Regions from separate parts of the Homo sapiens genome. Here region 2 is linked to region 1. Evidence: promoter capture Hi-C in human tissues and cell types (Jung and others, 2019). All regions are on one chromosome and are shown on one strand. The core of a region is centred on a gene start or on the middle of the fragment in contact, and the rest is flanking DNA. Distances in the headings are between cores, read along the strand shown. Region 1 holds the start of ZFR2 (zinc finger RNA binding protein 2). Region 2 overlaps APBA3 (amyloid beta precursor protein binding family A member 3).

Region 1 (4,427 bases), core at 1,361-3,860:
CAGAAGGTAGCTGTGCTAAAATGGGTTGCGTGTATACTGTATCACCTAAGCCATCAGAACACAGAAGGTAGCTGTGCTAAAATGTATAAGCACGTTAATTCAAATCAATGACAGAAGCCTCTACTGAAGCTTAGCAATCACCTATTTGAACAACATAAACATTCAATTTCTCCTCTGGAAGGTAATTTTAATAGCAAGCATAATATTCAAGTGATTTTCCACGTCTGATGGAAGAATACAATGGAGAAAGAAAGAAGAGAAAGAGAAAAGAAGGAAGAGCTAGCAGGCAGAGGGGTGGAGTGTGTCCAGAAGTTTGTACTAGCCTGGATCGCTAGCCAAGTCCAGCCGCTTTAACTGAGCCCTGGCAATCAAAACACCACTGAGGATGAAGGAAGCAAAAGAAAAGATCAAATAAAAATTAAATGCTCCATTCTGGGAAATCAGCAGGTCATAGATTCTTTCCCTAATAGGAAATCCATTACTAGTCAAATACTCCACCAGAGAAACCACTCCGAGTGCAGGAAACAGATGCACTCCTCATTCCCACAGCCCTGGTTTCCAAGCCCTGGGTGGTTTCTCTTTGTGATTCCATTAGAAAGGGCACAGCAATATCACAGCACTGGTGGAAGGGTCGGCACTGCCGCTCCACCGCGGGAAGCTGAAACACCAGCCTGGATCTCTCTTCCATGTGCTGAAATGCAGTAGGAACACCGCGGGGGGCAAAGACCCCCCTGAGCTCAGCAGAGGCCCCTCTATGAGGTGCCCAAGGGGTGGTTTGTATCTGTGGGGGCTCAGCAGGGACTGTGAGAAACAAGGTTATAGCAAGCTACCAGCTGGAAACTAACACAAGGGTGACACGCGGAAATGATCAACTGTTGGGGGGGGAATCTGGTCCCCTCAGAGATGCCAGCCCTGGCTCCCGGACTGGGACTCCAGTCTTGGGGGCAGATGGACGGGCTGAAGATAGCAGAGATGCTCCGAGGAGCAGGCCTGGGAGAACAGTGTAGAGTGTGTGTTTGTACACTTGGGGCACAAACTTACCCCGTGTGTGTCCCTACCCTCTGAGCCCTTCTGCCCCTGGCCAGTTCCCAGTGTGTCCCCATCCCCTGCCATCTCTCCTCCAGGATCCTTTCTCTCCCTCCCCTCCCAAACGACCACATATTTAAGACCTAGAAAAGGATCTTAAATATCACAACACTCAGGGCCCTTTCTCCCTCCTCACTGTCCCAGCAGGGTCCCAGTTCCCTGGAAACCCAGGTGCCCACCCTCTTATTTGACCTCAGGACCTCCTCCCACATAATACTGGCTTCCCGCCAAGTCTCTGTCCCCCTTCCCCAGTCAGGCCTCAGTTCCCCACCAACCTCGGTTTCCGCCCCTCCCTGGGGTAACCTCCCAGGTCTCTGTCTTCTCTCCTCCACCCCACATCAGGGGTCAGGTTCCCACCCCTACTCCACACCCCACCCCAGGTCTCTGCCCCTGCCTGCTAGGTACCCTCCCAGGTCTCTGCCTTCTCTCCTACCCCCACCATCAGGGGTCAGTGCCCTCCACACTCGAATGTTGCTGCCCCCTGCCCAGTCGGGAAACTTCCCAGGTCTCTGCCTTCTCCTCCTCCAGCAATCGGGGATTAACGCCCCTCTGCCCTTCCCCTCCTCCTGCCCAGCCAGACACCCTCCCAGGTCTGAATTCTCTCCCCCTACCAGCAATCGGGGTCAGCTCCGCTCTAGCTCTCCCCCTGTCCAGCCAGACACCCTCCCAGGTTTCTGTCTTCTCTCTTACCCCCATCAGGGGCCAATTCCTCACCCCTCGACTGTGGCTTCCTCCTGCCCAGCCAGGAACCCTCGCTGATCTCTGTTTTCTCCTCCCCTACAAGTAATCGGGGGTCAGCTACCCTCTGTCCATCCCCCTGCCCGGCCAGGCACCCTCCCAGGTCTGTGTCTTCTCCTCCCCCCGCAATCGGGGGTCAATGCCCCTCTGCCCTTCCCCTCCTCCTGCCCAGCCAGACACCCTCCTAGGTCTGTGTCTTCTCTTCCCCTACCAGCAATCAGGGGTCAGCTCCCCTCTGCCCATCCCCACCCACTCCCCGGCCAGGCACCTCCCAGGTCTCCTCCCTGCATTGGGTCAGTTCCGTCCCCTCCCCTCCTCGGTCAGACCACCCACCCCCCGCCCGGGTCTGTCCCCTCTCGCTGCCCTCCTCGTGGCGCCCCCATCAGGGGCTGACCCCCCCGACCCCGCACAGGCCCAGGCCCAAACCCAGGCCCCCTCCCACTTCAGGAGCCCCCTCCCGCTCCCGCCGACAGACACCGTTGGCTGCAGAGACGTCTCAGCCGGAGCCCCGGAGCCCGCATCCCGCCCGGTGCCTAACCTGAGGCCGCCCCGCCTGCTTCTCCCGGCGCCGCGGCTTCCCTCAGGCCGGGGTTCCAGGTTGGGGCTGGGACTGGGGCCGGGCCGGGCGCACGCGGCGGGAGAAGGGGTAGGCGGGGTCCCGGCCAGGCTGCAGGGGCCGGGACTGGCGGGGGCTGGCGCGGCGGGGCAGTTACCTGTACTGCGGGCCGCCGCCCTGCGCGAAGTCGAAATACTGACTCGTCGCCATCTTGGCGTCTTCCCCGAGCCTGGCGGACCCGCGACGTCACCCGCCCCGCCCCCGAGCCGCGTGCCGCTCGCGCCTGGCCACGCGCCCCAAGCTCCGCCCCCTGCGCGAAGCCCTCACCTTCTCGCTTCCTTCTCTTAGGCTAGGGAGACACCGCCCCGCGACCACACCTGCCCCGAGGCCCCGCCTCCTACGCAGAGCCCCGCCCTCCTCTTAACCACTCAAATGTGGAGGTCTCTGCTCAAGCCCCGCCCATGCTAGAAGCCCTGCCTCTTTCTCGGAGCCCCACATTCCCTTTAACCACTCAGATGTGGTGGTATCTGATCAAGTCCCGCCCATGCTACAAGCCCCGCCTCTTACTCAGAGCCCTGCCTTCCCTTTACCCACTCAGATGTGATCTCTGCTCAACCCCCACCCATGCCACAAGCCCCGCCTTTTTTTGGAACCGTACCTTCCCTTTAACCATTCAGGTGTGGAGGTCTCTGCTCAAGCCCCACCCATGCCACAAGCCCCGCCTCTTTCTCGGAGCCCCGCCTTCCCTTTACCTGCTCAGATATGGTCTCTGCACAAGCCCTACCTCTGTCTCCGAGCCCCACCTTCTCTTTAACCACTCAGATGTGGAGGTCTCTGCTCAAGCCCCACCACCACCACAGCCAGCTAATTTTTAAATTTTTTGTAGAGACAGTGTCTTGCTATGTTGCCCAGGCTGATGTTGAACTCCTGGCCTCAAATAATCTTGCCTTGGCCTCCAAAAGTGCTGGGATTACAGACGTGAGCCACTGCATCTAGCCTCAGAATGACTCTTCAGAAGGCCCCCATGGTCTCTGCCTCCTGTGTTCACAACGTGATATAAATAAATGATAGGCCGGGCACAGTGGCTCACGTCTGTAATCCCAACATTTTGAGAGGCGGAGGCAGGAGGATCTTGAGCCCTAGGACTTTGAGACTAGCCTGGGCAACATAGCAAGACCCTGTTTCTACAATTTTTTTTTAATTAGCTGGTCATGGTGGTACATGCCTGTGGTCCCAGCTACTCAGGAGGCTAAGGTGGGAGGATCACTTGAGCCTGGGCTGTCAAGGCTGCAGTGATCTGTGACTGTACCACTGCACTCCAGAGTGAGACCCTGTCTCAAAAAAGAGAAAAGAAAGAAAGGGCTGGGCGTGGTGGCTCACGCCTGTAATCCCAGCACTTTGGGAAGGCGAGGTGGGCAGCTCACCCAAGGTCAGGAGTTCAAGAGCAGCCTAGCCAACATGGCAAAACCCTGTCTCTACTAAAAATACAAAAAAAAAAATTAGCCAGGCGTGGTGGGGCACACCTGTAATCCCAGCTACTCGGGAGGCTGAGGCAGGAGAATTACCTAACCCAGGAGGTGGAGGATGCAGCGAGCCGAGATCACACCACTGTACTCCAGCCTGGGCAACAGAGCAATACACCGTCTCAAAAAAATAAAAAAATAAAAAATAAAAAAATAAATAAATAAATAATAAAAGAGGAGAGGGAGAGGAGCAGGGAGGGAGGGAAGGGAAGGAAAGAAGAGAGAGAGAGAGAGAGAGAGAAAGAATTGAATGAATAAACAAATAAATGGAGGCAAACAGACAAATCTCTTATGCAGAAGAATTCCTAATTTGTGTAGCTACACTGCGCTTAAGGAGATAGAGAGTAACTCTACACCTCTTGAGTGTGGGTTGTGCATAGTGACTTCCTTCCCAAGACTGCAGCCTGGAAGGAGGGGGAGGGAGAGTCACTTGACAGTATTGAAACCTGACAAGCAGCAGCGTGTTTGGCGGTCCCGCGGATCCGTCTCTTGCTTCCACAGTGTTTGGATGGAACAGATCCGGG
Region 2 (4,742 bases), core at 139-2,638, 120 kb before region 1:
ATGCTGAGGGCCCCCGAGCGCTCAGCAGGCCCCCCGTGCAGCAGGTTGGCGATGACGGCTGTGGGCAGCAGGGAGCCCCAGCCCGACTCCACCAGGGCCACGCCCAGGCCCTCCCCTCGCCGCTTCTCGAGGTGCACCTGGGACACACAGGGGGCGCGGAGGCTGCTCAGCAGGGCCCGGTGCAGGTGCACGGGTGTGGGGGGCACCAGGTGGGGGCTGCCCAGCACCTCACTCACCTCCCGGCAGTTGTCACTGTTGGAGAAGTGGTCCAGGTCCCCATTATGGAGGTGGCAGGCGCCTGGGCTCGGGTGCACGCCCACCTGGCTGGGGTCAATACCGCTTTCCCGTAGGAACTGGCTGTAGGCGGCGGCGAAGGCCTGGCCAATGGCCTGGGCGATGAGCTGGGCCTGCGGGGAGGAGTGGCGCGTCCCTGGGGTGTCCCACCCACCTCCTCCAGGTCCCCAAAGTCCCCAGGGTCCTCAGAGCTGAGCCCTCCTGTCCCCACCTGGGGTGAGAGTCCCAGGACACAGCCTTCTGCCCTGGGGCTTTGGGGGAGGTGGAGAGACAGCCGCATCTTGGGGAATCTACGGGGAGAAGGAAGGGGAGGGGCAGCCCTGGGCTGGGGGGACGATGAGGGAGGCAGCTCCCTGCGCATGGGCTGTGGGAAAAGCTATCAAAGACCCAGCCAGGGGGCCTGGGGCCTCATGGGTGGCAGGGACAGCCCAGGAGCGGGCAAGGTTTCGGGGAGTCGGCCGAGAGTCTTGGAGTCTTATAGGAGGCTGGACGCGGTGGCTCACGCCTGTAATTGCAGCACTTTGGGAGGCTGAGGTGGGTGGATCGCTTGAGCCCAGGAGTTTGAGACCGTGTTCACCTGGGCAACAGAGCGAGACCGTGTCTCTATAAAAAATACAAAAATTAGCCAGGCATGGTGATACCCCGGTGGTCCCAGCTACTAGAGAGGCTGAAGTGGGAGGATCGCTTGAGCCTGGAAGGTTGAGGCTGCAGTGAACTATGATTGCGCCACTGCACTCCAGCCTGGGTGACAGAAGGAGACCTTGTCCCAAAAAAAGAATTTAAAAATAAGCTTATGGGAGGGAGGTTAAATGCACGGCCCACTGAGGGAGGCGACAGTTGCAGTGAGGAGGGCCTCAGGAGGGTGGCCCCGCGCCCTGGCTGCTCACGTCCTCCGCGTAGAATACGTGGCAGAGCATCTTGTAGAGGCGGCGGCCGTGGTCCTGGGGTGCCGGCCTCCGTGCCAGCCGCCGCCGCGCCATCAGCACCAGCACGCAGCCGATGTCGGCTGTGTAGGAGATGGTATGCAGGGCGTGGTCCATCATGGCCTCCTGGGGCGGGAGAGGCAGCCTGGGTGGGTTGGGGGGCCGTGCCAGGCTCGATCACCCCACCCGCATCCCTGGGGCGGGTCCCTGCCCCGTACCTGGGAGTCCGCTGTCAAGACCTTGATCCTCTTGGTGGAGACGAACAGGTCCACCTCCGTCATGGGCTGGGTCTCCCCATCGGGGGCCTGTGGGTGGCGGCGTGGGAGGTGGAGGCCCCCACAGACCCAGCCTGCAGCCCACCCGCCTGCCCGCCCGGCCCCGGCCGCCCCCTCACCTTGACGCGGTCCATGGCCTCCCGGGCCTGGGCCATGCGCGTGCTGGTGGGCGGGTTCCGTTCCGACACCAGCTGGGTGGACCCCAGGTACCTGGCCCCAAATATGACACCGTCCAGGAGGTCTTCATGGTCACAGGGACCAGGCACTGAGGGCGACAGCGAAGAGGGTCGGCCCCCAGGGGCCCACTCCCACAGGCTCTGCCCCAGGGCTACGCTCTCCGAGATGGCCGGGAGACACAGTGTTCTAGCTGGTGGCTTAGCACTCTCCAGCCAGGAAGCACAGCCCACTGTTCTAGAACCATCCAAGCAGCCTGGCCCTCACAGGTCTAGAACCTTCTGTCCATCCCTCAAGGACTCGCAGGTGGGAAACCAGTGAGTCCAGGCCATGGCTGGATTCAAAGCCAGATCTAGCACCCACAGATACCTTCACCCCGTGTCCCCAGAATTCCATGATCAGGCCGGAACCAGACAGTCCCACTCCTGCTTTTTTGAGACACGGTCTCGCTCTGTCGCCCAGGCTGGAGCTCGGTGGTGTGATCTCAGCTCACTGCAACCTCCGCTTCCTGGGTTCAAACGATTCTCCTGCCTCAGTCTCATGAGTAGCTGGGATTACAGGCGCCCACCACCACGCCTGGCTAGTTTTTGTATTTTTAGTAGAGACGGGGTTTCGCCACGTTGGCCAGGCTGGTCTCAAACTCCCGACCTCAAGTGATCCACCCGCCTTGGCCTCCTAAAGTACTGGGATGACAGGCGTGAGCCACGACGCTCCACCCCCCACTCCAATTTCGAAACCTCCACAACATTCTAGAACCACAGTGGACCCCTGCTTCTTGGTTCTGGAATTCCCTCCATCAATCTAGAACTGGCCAGCTCTGCCCACTGTTCTAGAACCGTCTGCAGTCAGCCCAGGATAGCAGGCAGCTCTGTTCCCGGGTTGTAGAACCACTCAGAACAGAGACAGACCCTGCTGCCTGTCTAAAATTCCCATACTCTCCAGAACCCCAGCTGGTTCTGACCCTTGATTCCAGAACTCTCTGACAGGTCTCATAGCAATTCTGTCAGGAGTTTTAGAATCTTATTATCACTCTAGAATCAGACTTCTCTGCTCCGTGATTCCAGAACATCTTAATCACAATCGCGTCAGGCAGCTCTTCCTGTGGTTCTAGAATCTCCTTCAGTAGTTCACACCTTTGGCTACACCAGGGATTCTAAGAATTACCTGACCAGTCAAGGAACAAACAATTCTGTTCCAGGAGAATTCTAGACAGTTCCAGAATACTCCCAACCCAGCCCAGAACTACATAAAGCTTTACTCCTGGCTGGGTGCGGTGGCTCACGTCTGTAACCCCAGCACTTTAGGAGGCCGGGGGGGGGGGGTGGATCACCTGAGGTCAGGAGTTCGAGACCTGCCTGGCCAACATGGCGAAACCCCGTCTCTACTAAAAATACAAAATTAGCTGGGCGTGGTGGCGCGTGCCTATAATCCCAGCTACTTGAAAGCTGAGGCGGGAGAATCACTTGAACCCAGGAGGTGGAGGTTGCAGTGAGCCGAGAGAGATCGCACCACTGCACACCAGCCTGGGTGACAGAGCAAGATTCCATCTCCAAAAACAAAAAGGAAAAAAAAAAAAAAGCTTTACTCTCATGGTTCTAGAATTCCCTGAGCTACCCAGAGCCAGACAGCTCTGCCAGTGGCCCTAGAACATTCTAACCAGTAACTACGGCTCTTTGGTTTAGAACCACGGGTGTAGGGCCCCGTTCTGGACACCACTAAGTGAAATTCACCCTACACCACAGTCGGTTCTGCCCACTATCCTTCAGGATCTAAGCATTCTGGAACAAGAGCTCCACTCTGGGGTTCTAGAGAGATACGTCATTCACTGTGGTAGCCACCAGGCACATGTATCTATCACAGACTTGAAATGTGGCTCGACTGAATAGAGATGTAAATAGAAAATACACACTAGATATTGAAGATTTGGTATGAAAAAAAGTAATTTAAGGTCAGGCATGGTGGTTCACGCCTGTAATCCCAGCACTTTGGGAGGCAGAGGCGGGCGGATCACCTGAGGTCAGGAGTTTGAGACCAGCCTGGCCAACATGGTGAAACCCCGTCTCTACTAAAAATACCAAAATTAGCTGGGCATGGTGGCAGGCGCCTGTAATCCCAGCTACTCGGGAGGCTAAGGAAGGAGAATCACTTGAACCCAGGAGGCAGAGGTTGCAGTGAGCCAAGATTGCGCCATTGCACTCCAGCCTGGGCAACAAGGTGAGACTGTGTCTCAAAAAAATAAAAAAGTAAATTAAAAATATTGATTGTATGTTGAAATAATATTTTAAATATGTTAGCTTAATTAAAATGTTATTAAAGTTAATTTCTTAGCCAGGTATGGTGGCGTATGCCTATAGTTCCAGTTACTCAGGAGGCTGAGGCGAGAGAATCGCTTGAAGCTGGGAGGCGGAGGTTGCGGTGAGCTGAGATCGTGCCACTGCACTGCAGCCTGGGCGACAGAGCGAGACTCCGTCTCAGTTTAAAAAAAAAAAAAGTTATTTCACCTGTTTTTAATTTTTTAACGTGGATAACTACAAAATTTTAAATCACATATGGCTCACGTTGTATTTCTATTGTAGTTCCATCTAGAACTTTCTGATTACACTATAATTGGACAGCTCTGCCCAGGGTTATAGAACACTAGATAACTATTCCCTCCATGGTTCTAGAATTCTCCAGTCTGAGTAGAACCAGATGCCTCTGTTCACCAATTCTGAGCATTCTCATCAGCCCAGATTCCTTTACCCTAGAAACAGACAAAATGCCAAGCCCTGGAACTCCCTAGGTGTCACAGCTCTGCTCGATTCTAGAACCTTCTTAGAGCTATAGGTTCAAACCAGTTTTTCTCTCTGCAACCACAGAACTGTTTTTTTTTTTCTTTTTTTTGAGACATGGTCTCACTGTCACCCAGGCTGGAGTGCAGTGGCACAATCTTAGCTCACTGCAGCCTCAAGTGATCCTCCCACCTCAGCCTCCCAAGTAGCTGGGATTATAGACCCATGCCACGTGCCTGGCTAATTTTGGGGGGGGATTTTATTTTTGTGGAGACAGGGTTTTGCTGTGTGGCCCAGGCTGGTCT

The links. The method cuts DNA at HindIII sites, captures the fragments that hold promoters and counts their contacts. A contact is called where the count stands out against the background at its distance.
Region 2: a fragment that was not itself captured here is called in contact with the fragment with the promoter of ZFR2 in region 1 in 2 of the 25 tissues and cell types used here (IMR-90 fibroblasts and mesendoderm cells).

Annotation. Positions count from the first base shown.
Region 1 is chr19:3,866,428-3,870,854 of GRCh38, forward strand. It overlaps ZFR2 (zinc finger RNA binding protein 2), which reads right to left and starts at 2,611. Exons shown (of 19, transcript NM_015174.2): 1 at 2,538-2,611. The coding sequence starts at 2,590. It also overlaps the pseudogene FTLP5. The HindIII fragment of the contact is 14,046 bases long and covers 1-4,427 here.
Region 2 is chr19:3,752,584-3,757,325 of GRCh38, forward strand. It overlaps APBA3 (amyloid beta precursor protein binding family A member 3), which reads right to left. Exons shown (of 11, transcript NM_004886.4): 4 at 1,612-1,757; 5 at 1,436-1,522; 6 at 1,182-1,343; 7 at 237-407; 8 at 1-137. Among named protein-coding and RNA genes, the nearest start is that of APBA3, 6.7 kb to the right of the region's middle. The HindIII fragment of the contact is 3,385 bases long and covers 1-3,081 here.